2 separate regions of the Homo sapiens genome follow, and region 1 is linked to region 2. Evidence: promoter capture Hi-C in 16 types of primary human blood cells and fetal thymus (Javierre and others, 2016). All regions are on one chromosome and are shown on one strand. The core of a region is centred on a gene start or on the middle of the fragment in contact, and the rest is flanking DNA. Distances in the headings are between cores, read along the strand shown. Region 1 has its middle 15 kb from the start of LINC01617. Region 2 holds the start of PLAG1 (PLAG1 zinc finger).

What was found. Contacts are between HindIII fragments. The CHiCAGO score rates a contact against its expected background, and 5 or more counts as called.
Region 1: a fragment that was not itself captured here is called in contact with the fragment with the promoter of PLAG1 in region 2 in 1 of 17 cell types (non-activated CD4 T cells); the score reaches 5.2 in non-activated CD4 T cells.

The regions. Positions count from the first base shown.
Region 1 is chr8:73,891,357-73,896,940 of GRCh38, reverse strand. No RefSeq gene overlaps it. Among named protein-coding and RNA genes, the nearest start is that of LINC01617, 15 kb to the right of the region's middle. RefSeq lists an enhancer at 3,651-3,730. The HindIII fragment of the contact is 572 bases long and covers 3,162-3,733 here.
Region 2 is chr8:56,208,650-56,213,809 of GRCh38, reverse strand. PLAG1 (PLAG1 zinc finger) reads left to right here and starts at 2,537. Exons shown (of 5, transcript NM_002655.3): 1 at 2,537-2,689. It overlaps CHCHD7 (coiled-coil-helix-coiled-coil-helix domain containing 7), which reads right to left and starts at 2,021. Exons shown (of 4, transcript NM_001011671.3): 1 at 1,973-2,021. RefSeq lists enhancers at 1-272, 1,843-1,912 and silencers at 1,925-2,150, 1,993-2,552. The HindIII fragment of the contact is 9,849 bases long and covers 648-5,160 here.

The sequences.
Region 1 (5,584 bases), core at 2,198-4,697, about 18 Mb before region 2:
CAAGGTGCCATCTTTCTTTTTTGTTTGTTGTTGTTGTTGTTGTTGTTGTTGTTGTTGAGACAGAGTCTCGCTCTGTTGCCCAGGCTGGAGTGCAGTGATGCCATCTCGGCTCACTGCAACCTCCACCTCCCAGGTTCAATTGATTCTCCTGCCTCAGCCTCCCAAGTAGCTGGGATCACAGGCGCACACCACCACACCCAGCTAATTTTTGTATTTTTAGTATAGACGGGGTTTCACCATGTTGGCCAGGATGGTCTCCATCTCCTAACCTCGTGATCTGCCCACTTCGGCCTCCCAAAGTGCTGGGATTACAGGCATCAGCCACCGCACCCGGCCAAGGTGCCATCTTTCTAGCCTCCAACCTGAAGCTAGTTATCTAGGGGCCTGCTAAGAGTCACAATATTAGAACAAAAGGTGCTCCTATCACTCAGGAAATTAGGAGTTTTAGGAGCTCTGTGTCAGGAACTGAGGACAAAGACCAAATATATATTTCTCATTATGCCACAAATCTTTTACATATTTTTTCTGTTCCATTCATGTTATTTTTCTGCAGAAACCATCATCTATGCCTATATATTTAATAACACTTTTGTGACTTTCATATCTATCATATCTAATGTTCTTTTACTCTGTCTTTTCAAACTATATCCAGCCTGTGTTGAAATTTCTCCTGTTGGCCAGGCACGGTGGCTCACGCCTGTAATGCCAGCATTTTGGGAGTCCGAGGCGGGTGAATCATTTGAGGTGAGGAGTTTGCAACCAGCCTGACCAATATGGTGAAACCCCGTTTCAACCAAAAATACAAAAACATTAGCCGGGCGTGGCGGCGCATGCCTGTAGTCCCAGCTACTCGGAAGGCTGAGGCAGGAGAATCGTTTGAACCCAGGAGGCGGAGGTTGCAGTGAGCCGAGATCACACCACTGCCCTTCGCCTGGGTAACAGAGTGAGACTCCATCTCAGAAAAAAAAAAAAAATTTCTCCTGTTGTTTTAAAAATGTATTTTTACAGTTAGTTCTTTGAGTCAGGATCCAAACGAGGTTAACATATTGCATTTGTTTAATATGTCTCTTGGGTATCTTTTAATCTATGAGAGTTTCCCTCGATCTCCCTTTTATACCATTTATTGAAGAAACTAAGTCATTTGTTCTGTAGAATTTCCTATAATCTGACTTTGGCTGTTTGCAGCCTCTTGATGTGGTTTTACAAGTTCCTCTATTTTGCACTTCACTCACTCTGTATTTCCTATAGACTGATCATGAGATATAGGTCTTGATTACATTCTTTTGGTAAGAGTGCTTAATCTATTACTTCCTAACCACCTTCAGGAAGCACATAATATCTGGCTGTCCCACTTTTACTGACATTAAAATTAATCAATAAATTTATGTGTGTCCGTGTGATTCATCCATTATTAGACTCTTCCTCAACTTTTCAGCTAATGGTTTTAACACGAATTGAAGATCAATGCCAGACTCCATTATTTTACTAGGGTTTGCAAACTTATTATTCTTTAAATCTCTCATTGCTTTTATGTGCAATACATATTTATATTATGTATAGATACGTCTATGTATATAGTTATGTGTTTCATTTTGTCACATTCCTTATTTTGTTGCTCAAACTTATCTTCAGCCAGTAAGATCCCTCTTCAAGGCCAGCTTCTCTAATCCTTTTAAACTGTTATTTTTCATTTCATTTGATACAGCCAATTAAGTAAAAGGAAGCAATATGATGAAGTTTAACATCTACCTCAATGATTCTCAATTTCCACTGGAGTGTGAACTTGAATTCCAGAGTCTGAAGAACGCTCTGTTTTTTTGTTTTCTTTTGTTTGAGACGGAGTCTCGCTCTGTCCCCCAGGCTGGAGTGCAGTGGCGCGATCTCGGCAGCAAGCTCCGCCTCCCGGGTTCGCGCCATTCTCCTGCCTCAGCCTCCCGAGTAGCTGGGACTACAGGCACCCGCTACCGCGCCCGGCTAATTTTTTTTTTTTTTTTTTTTTTTTTTTGTATTTTCAGTAGAGACGGGGTTTCACCGTGTTAGCCAGGATGGTTTCGATCTCCTGACCTTGTGATCCGCCCGCCTCGGCCTCCCAAAGTGCTGGGATTACAGGAGTGAGCCACCGCGCCCGGCCCACTCTGTTTTAAATAACTTACCAAACAGTAAAATTCTTGTTCTACAGAGACGTACCATGTCTATCTTGTGGTTTTATAATTCCTATGTCATATCATAGGAGAATATGTCCCCCAGTCCTATGGTATTATAACATAAAAAGCTATTAGGAGTCTTCCTCCACCTCAAAACCAATGTACATCACCCACACAGCCTTCCATCTTCAGACTCCTAGCATTTTGAAACACTTCTCTCTCTCCTTATTCTTTGACCTCTCAGACTCTCTTTAGGCAATGAAAATGCTCAAATCTCTTTCTAAAATAAGCAAATAAAAAACTAAACTGTTCCCTACTCTTGACTTTGCATTTATCTCATTTCCCACTTTCTTTTCTCAGATTAAGCTTTTTTTTTTTTTTTTTTGAGACAAAGTCTTGCTCTGTTGCCGGGGCTGGAGAGCAGTGAGGTGCCCTGGTGCAAACCTAGCTCACTGCAGCCTTGAATGCCTAGGCTCAAGGGATCCTCCTAACTTAGCCTTTAAAGTAGCTAGGACTACAGGTATGCACCACCTTGCCCAGCTAATTTTTTATTTGTTGTAGATAGAGATGGGGAGAGGGGCCCTCCCTGTGTTCCCTAGGCTGGTCTCAAACTCCTGGCCTCAAGCAATCCCAATCCTCCCCTCCCAGCTGCTTCTTCTCTTTTTTTAGACAGAGTCTTGCTCTGTCGCCCAGGCTGGAGTGCAGTGGCAAGATCTCGCTCACTACTGTAATCCCCGCCTCCCAGGTTCAAGCGATTCTCCTGCCTTAGCCTCCCCCATAGCTGGGATTTCTGGCTCTCGCCACCATGCCCAGCTAATTTTTGTACTGTTTTAGTACAGACGGGGTTTCCCCATGTTGGCCAGGCTGGTCTCAAACTCCTGACCTCAAGTGATCCGTCCACCTTGGCCTCCCAAAGTGCTGGGATTACAGACGTGAGCCACTGCATCTTGCCCCCTCCCTGCTTCTTAAACTGTTGAATTTTAGGTGTGAGCCACCGCACCTGGCTTCAGTTAAGCTTCTTGATGTATCTATTTCTTCAGTTACCAGTTCACGCCACAACTCATTCCAACAGAAAATATGGTACTCGCTACTGAGTACTGATTCCTGAGGACCTTTTTTTGGCTTCTAAATGCTCATGTTCCCCTAGCTTCTGACTTCAGCATCATGTTCTTCTCTTTCCTAATCTGTATTGGGGTGATCTCTTTATTTTCCTGGTTTAAATGTAATCATTTTACTGAATGTGCTGGACTCCATGTGGTGCTGTTGCCTGTTATCCTTTCAAACCTGCTTGATGGGCTTTCTCTGCCCTGGATGAAATCTCAGAAAGTTGCCAGAACTGCTCTAGTCCCTCTATCACAAGAACAGCCTCTTATCAGACATTAAAATGTTCAAGCCATCTAATGTTATCACAATCAAAAACTTCTACTTAAATGAGAGTTTCTCCCCACCTTCTCTCAGCTTAAGGGCCGGAAACTTGTGGTGTAGAATTGTCTGCTGAATATACTGAATATATTCCTTGTAGTAGTGGACATCTGTAGTTTATGTTTCTCTGGCATCTCTTATCTCCTCCCATTTTAGTTTAAGAAGCTTCTTCCTTCTGGGATGTCTCGTTACACGTGACCTGGGCGGGGCTGACCACCCCCACACTGCAGCCACAATGCTGTAAGAGTCAGCCAAGACCTAACCAATCAGAGTAAATACCTCACTTCCTTCATCACTATGATGATTAGTTGAGAGATGGAGCTGATTAAAGCCAATCAGATCTTTGTAGCTAGAACTATCCCTGGGGCTGCTGAGCTGGTAGGAGGGATATGAGCCTGGAGACTGGGGGTTATTTTGTTCACACAGAGACACAGAAAAAGTGGCCCTCCACTTCAGCTAAGCTTCTGTTCCCACAATTTCTTAAGGAATTTATTTTCCCCTCCCTATTTGAATTCATTTGAGATGGGTTTTACAACTTACACTTGAAAAATACCTGACTGAAATAGATGACCTATAGGAAACTTGAAAATCTCAAACATGTCCAAAAGGGAATTCTTTTTTCTTCCTCTTCTACTTTCATTGCCTCCATTTCTACTAACTCCTCTATTTTCAAACCAGAAATCTAGCACTCAACTCTTTCCTCCTCCTCCTTCCCTACAAACAACAGATCTCTCAGTCCTGTCTGCTCTCCCTCCTGTCGCTAGAGCCCTTCCCTTCCTTTCCATACATGTCCTAGTCCATCCTCACTTTCTCACTCCTTGGCAATAGCTTACTTTCCTGATTTTTCTTTGCTGACTTTACCTGATCAAATCTGTTCATCCACTAGAACAATCATTCTAAAACACAAGTCTGGTTTATTGTTTTTGTTTTTGTTGTTGTTGTTTGTTTTTTGAGATGAAGTCTCGCTCTGTCGCCCAGGCTGGGATACAGTGGCATGATCTCGGCTCACTGCACCCTCCGCTTCCCGGGTTCAAGCGATTCTCCTGCCTCAGTCTCCCAAGTAGCTGGGATTACAGGCACGCACCACTATGCCTGGCTAATTTTTGTAGTTTTAGTAGAGACGGGGTTTCACCATGTTGGCCAGGCTGGTCTCAAACTCCTGACCTCAGGTGATCCACACTCCTCAGCCTCCCAAAGTGCTGGGATTACAGGCGTGAGCCATTGCACCCAGCCTGGTTTACCACTTTCTATTTGGAAATACCTCGAATGTGCCAAATGATCTCTAAGATCAAGTCCAGCCCCCTCATTAGCCAACAGAACCTTCCATGAAGGGCACATGTTCTGAGAATCACCTCAAGGCTGTGTCACAGGCTAAATAAATAAAACCTTCCATGACCTGGTCTTACTTGCCTCTTTGGTCACATCTTCCACTCTGTCTTTACAATTTCTGTTAGGCAATACCAATCTGTTTGTCATCCCTTGTAAACACCAATCACCTAGTTATGTTTCCTCTCCCAATTCCTTTCCTGTACCCCTTTGCACCTCTGCTCAGATGTCGGCTCTTCCAGACACATGTCCTTAGCTCCCAGGTGGGGTCAAATGCTCCTACCGTTTGCTTCCATCATAGCCAGTAAGTAACTTTTCCCATATTCTGTTAAATCCTTTCTTAGATCCATCTTCCTGAGTATAAGCAATGTGAGGGCAGGAACTGTATCTTATTCATCTCTATATCTCTAGTGTCTGGCATTCAATATAGGCTTGTTGGACAAAATTACATTTTTAAGAATTTTGTTGAACTGAAAATTCACCAATTAGATATATTTGGGGGCATAGATATCCTTGGTAAAACGTAAAATCCATCCTACCTTAAGTTTAACTTAAGTTTTGTAGTTCAAAATGAATAAACTTGATCAGTATTACTTTTTTTCTAAAACCTATTGATATGGGTCATTAAATGAAAGGATTCTGAAAGATAATATGTGCACTGGTTGGAGAATTCGATTTTTAGAGTCCTAGAG
Region 2 (5,160 bases), core at 1,288-3,787:
ATGAAAAGCTATACTGTTTCAAAAACAAAAGAGTTGAAATTTTACTTCCAGTGGCATCTTCTTTTTAACTATTTCCCTGCGTTGCAGGAAGTCAGGGAATGCTACTGTGCTTCAGTAATCTTCCAATTCAATTCCTAGAGATACAGCTTTGCAAAAGTTTAGGAGGCCGAGTCGGGCGGATCACGAGGTCAGGAGTTCAAGACCAGCCTGGCCAACATGGTGAAACCCCCTGTCTACTAAAAATACAAAAATTAGCTGAGCGTGGTGGCACGCGCCTGTAATCCCAACTACTCAGGAGGCTGAGGCAAGAGAATCGCCTGAACTTGGGAAGCAGAGGTTGCAGTGAGCCGAGATCGCGCCACTGCACTCCAGCCCAAGCGACAGCAGTGGAAGACGCCGTCTCAAAAAAAAAAAAAAGAGACACCCAGCCCAGTTCTACTATGGGAAAGATCAGGACGTCCAGGCCAAAGGAGACCAGCCTTTGCAAAAAAAAGAATGGAAAAGGGTTTGGTTATTCTGGTGTCCATTAAGTAATCACTGAATAATAATTTTATGATTTTCATTGAACAATACAAGAAAATAACCAGCCAACAGTAACATCTTGGCAAAAAAGAAATCAAGATGCTGTTCAATTATATCTACAAGCTTCTTCCTCTCCTGAAGACAATTTTTTTCCACACTTCCCTTCTTCCTAAGAGAGATGATGATAGTAAATAAATTCACAGCTTTCTTTTTTACACCTATCCTATGATGTGAGAACACAGAACTCTTCATACACCTTAGATTTAATAATCTCAACAAGGATCAGACAACCTTGCATTAAATTTAAGTTTCGTGCCTTACATGAAAGTATCCTACTCTATATTTTATTGTCAGTCAGAAATTCTTCAAAAATAATACCTAGGTAACATCACATATACCCAGTTCGAGTTTGGTGCATGAGTTTCTTCACATTTCATTTCCTTTTCCTTCCGGATTCTAAATACAAGGCACTCTAAGTTTGGATTTCCGAAAGTCCCCTCCTTTGCATGAGTTCCTCGTGTATTAACTGGAATTGAAGAGGAAATGTCAATTTACAGTGAGGAGCGGGGCTGAATTACAACATCGAGTGCTCCGCTAAAGGGGCCTTGTCTATTACTTTTTGAATGTACTAAATAAATGTTACAAGGCTCTACTACTTGCAGAGCATAACCAGAAAGAAAAACCAAGCAAAGATATGAAGGAGGGGCCACAAAACCATAGCACATTCAGGGGATAACTCTAAAATCCACTCCAAAGGGCAAACTGCTTAATAAAGCAGTTCCTGATTTCCCATCCAGTGGTTCACGTCCCCCCTCTCTAAGTAGCTTTGAAAGGGCAGGGGGAAGGAAACGTTTCTGAACACGTTCATGCCCACACGCCCCGTGGTCGGAGCCCAGGCAGGGTCCGCGGCTCTGCTAAACCCGGAAGCTGCACACGCCGTGCCGTTAACCCACTGCCAGGTGCAAAGTGGAAGGGGGCAAGAAGTCAAGGGTGGCCTGCCGGAGGTGGGCGCGCAGGGCAAGGAGAAACGAAGGGCGAACCCGAGGCCTCGCCGCCTTCCGCGGTGTAGCCCGTCAGCATCTGATCCTGGACGGCGCGCACAGGTGAACACACCTTGCTGTGCCGAGACCATGCCGAGAGAGACAAGGGGCGAGGAAAACGCAGGGAACTGGGGGTGGGGCCGGTAACTGCGCTTCAGAGGCTACACAGGAGAGTGGAAGAAGAGCTGGGGTTGCCCGGACTAGGCAGAGGTCATCTTCCTCGCCCCCGGAGCGAACAGACCCGTGTGGCGGGAGGAAGAGCAACGGGAAGAGGTCCGCGCTGCGGCGAAGCCTGGCGGGAGCGCCTCCGCGCCGCAGAAGTGCATTCGGGCCCCGCTACGGCCCAAGGGCACCCCTCTCTCCCCGCTTTTCTGCGGCCGCTTCGGAGGTAGGGCGGGGGAACCACTCACCTCCGGCCTCCGCTTCGCCAGCACCCAGGCCGTCTCCAGCTCCAAACACGTCAATGGCTCACGCAGCAGGACCTTAAGTAGCGCGCATCCCAACTTGCTGCCCCCGCTCCCCGGCGGCAGCCCGCCCAATCGGCGCGCGCCGCCGCCAGACTGACAGCCGCGCGGGGCCCTGGGCCGCAGGGGCGGTCGGGCCTCGCCCCGCCCCCGCCTGGCGAAAGGAGGGCCGAGGCGGGAGGAGTGGGCGGGGCGGTGAGCGCGACCCCGCCCCCTCTTCCCCCGCCCCACCGCGCCCCCCAGCCGCGGCCCGTCTCTTAACACTTCGGCTTGACGGGCGGCGTCGCGGCCCAATGGGCGGGCCAACTCCCGCCAGCGGCGGCTCCGAGTGGCCAGCTCTCGGGCGGAGCGCGCGCGGGGGGCGGGCGCAGCGGCGGGCGGGGTTTGGGGGCGGGCCGACGGGAGGCGGGGGCGGTGGCCGAACAGGCAGGGGGAGGCAGCGGTGGGCGCGACGTCGGCGGCGGCGGCGGCGGCGGCGGCGGCAGCTGCAAGTTGGGCTGCAGGGGCAGCGCATACACTACAATGGCTGCTGGAAAGAGGCGTAAGGAAACAATTTCCAGGCCCGCCGCGTCCAGCCCGAAATATGAGAAAAAAATTATTAGAAATTCCGCGGGCGGTGTAGAGGCGGCGGACGGGCCGGAGGGAGGATGTTAAAGCCCCGCGGTGAGTTCTCCGGGGGTCCGGGGCGGCGGCGAGGCGTTTAGCGGGAGAAATATCAGGGTTATTTAAATTATGGGACTAGCCGAGGGGGCAGAGGAGCAGCGGCGGCGGCAGGAGGAGGAAAAGTTTGTGCTACTCTCAGCCCCTGCTCAGGACCCCAGAGAGAAAAATAATAATAAAAAATAAAATAAAATAATTACGCGGGGCTGCGAGGACTCCCGAAGTCGCTTCTGACAGGGCAGGGGGCGATGCGGCTGGGGACCCGAAGGTGAGGTCGGTGGGAAAAAAAAAAAAACCTTTATTCAGGGTCTGGAAAGTTTGAAAAGTTTTCCTCCTCCTCCTCCTCCTCCTCCTCTCTGGTGCTGTGAATATTGTGACAGCGGCAGCGGCAGCAGCGAGAGCGGAAGACATTAGAGACCCGAAAAATAAGGGAAAAATTAATATAAATTCAGTTTTGAGAGTAAACTCTCCGCATTTTCCACCAAAACATCCCGGGGGAAGGTCGCTTCCCAAAGGGCCTGGCGGAAACCCGCAGTCGGCAATATTTGGGGGGCACTTTGAGTGACTTGGGGTAACTTTGCCCCTTTTTCAAAAGAGGTTTTTCTTTTCTGGAGAAATGAATTTGTTTTTGCCCTTTCCTCAGGTGGGCAAGCCGGGGTCGGGGTGCGGGGTCTGCAGGGAGGTGTGAGCCCGGGGTGTGTGGCTGCGAGGGGGGGTAGGGGGAGGGGGTGCTAAATGAAAGCAGGAGATCGGCACAGAGCAGGGACAGCTTGTTGTCAGTATCATAAACAACCAAAATGGAGGGAGAACTCAGGCATATAACCAAATAAAAATTTTTAAAAAATCGCAAAAAATCCCTAAAAATCCGGGATGCTCCCCCTTTTCTCGCTAAAGGTAAAAGTATGTACCGCCTTTCCCCTGAAGTCCATTTTGACTTTGCAGGGACCAAGGAGTTAATATTTATTTATTTTTTAAAACTTTCGAAGGGCAAAAGCCTTTTATAACTCAACCGACAATGAGAAAACGTGAAAATCCGATGCAAGAGAAGCAGGGGGAGCGAGGGGGGAGGTGGTAGTGCAGAAACTGCTAAACTTATTGGTAATGTGGACTGATCTCAGATAAGATAAACACTATATTTGCTATTTTATAACTCTCTTTTAATGATCTTTGCGGGGTTTTTTTGGGTGGAAAAAAAAGTGATGCCATTTTCTTAATAGAGTTAATATGTGTGATTGGAAGAATGAACCTTTCCGGCTTTAGATTGCATTTTCGTCGCATTTATGCTTCAGGTTTTGTTAGTGGCTCCCTCCTTTCTTTAAACTGGGCTCTGCAGAGGAGGGATAGAGAGGTGATGGTGCTCAGAGAGGCTGGAGTGCAAGGCTGGAGTACCTTTTGGGGAGGGATGTGGAGTTGCTTGGTTTCCCCCTTCCTGACATGTTTGCTTCACCTGTTCATCCTTCCTAAAGAATGTTAAGCTGAGGTTTTCTGGTTTTATGTGTATAAAAGGATGATGTCTCTTGCATCACATTGATGTTAATGGGAAAGTGCTGCTGATGTTGGTTCCACGTGGGATATGGGACAGAGCAGGGCATTTTAAAGGGACAGCTTCTCTTTTCTTATGGTTTTCATCACCTACACAGAATCACTGTCTGAGGACCAAAAGCAGAGGTGCTGGGAGGGTGTGGTGATGGAAGAGCCTTCCCTTTCTGTTACTCCAGTGCACCCACCCATAGGAGTGATGGAGGGACAGGAGGGATAAACAGCCTCAACCGAAGATGGATATGTGTATAGTTTGTATCCAAACTGTTCCTTTGTGTAACAAGCCCTCCCAGGAACTTTTCATGTTACATTGCTTTGCTTTGGAAGCTGATTTTGGAAGGAATTGTGGAAAAATGGAAATAGTTTAAGGTGTGTGGTGTAATGGTATAGCATTATTGAACAGTTATGAATTCTGTGCAGTGAGATCAAAGAGCTGTGTATGCCCATAATGTGATTTTACAGCCATTTTGTAAAAACTGTAAAATACCTTAATATTCAATTTGGCTTAAGGTACATTGAGGACTTCTGGTTGAAAATTACAGAGTGGTGAAGATTCTTTAAAATTGTAAGCAGTAGGCATTTCTTTAGGGGGAAGGAAAGCACACACACCAACACCATGGAAAAGTTTACACATCCATTTTTAAAGTCCATCCTATGCATGGGTTGTAACTTTGCGCCTTTGAAATGAAAAGATTTTTAAAATCCTGAGCCCTGTGAGTTTTCATTTTCTAAGTTGAATTTATTTGTGTTATTTAACAGAAAGTGTTTACTGACCATAAACTACTATCGGCTCTTATGTTTTAGATTTCCACGATATTTTCAAAATTTAAAATGTGTAAATTGTTAGCTGTACTATAATGGGGATTAAGGTTAATCTTCAGTAGAAATTACTTGTGTTCCATTTTCCACAGGTATATGGAGTTTCTGAAATAAAT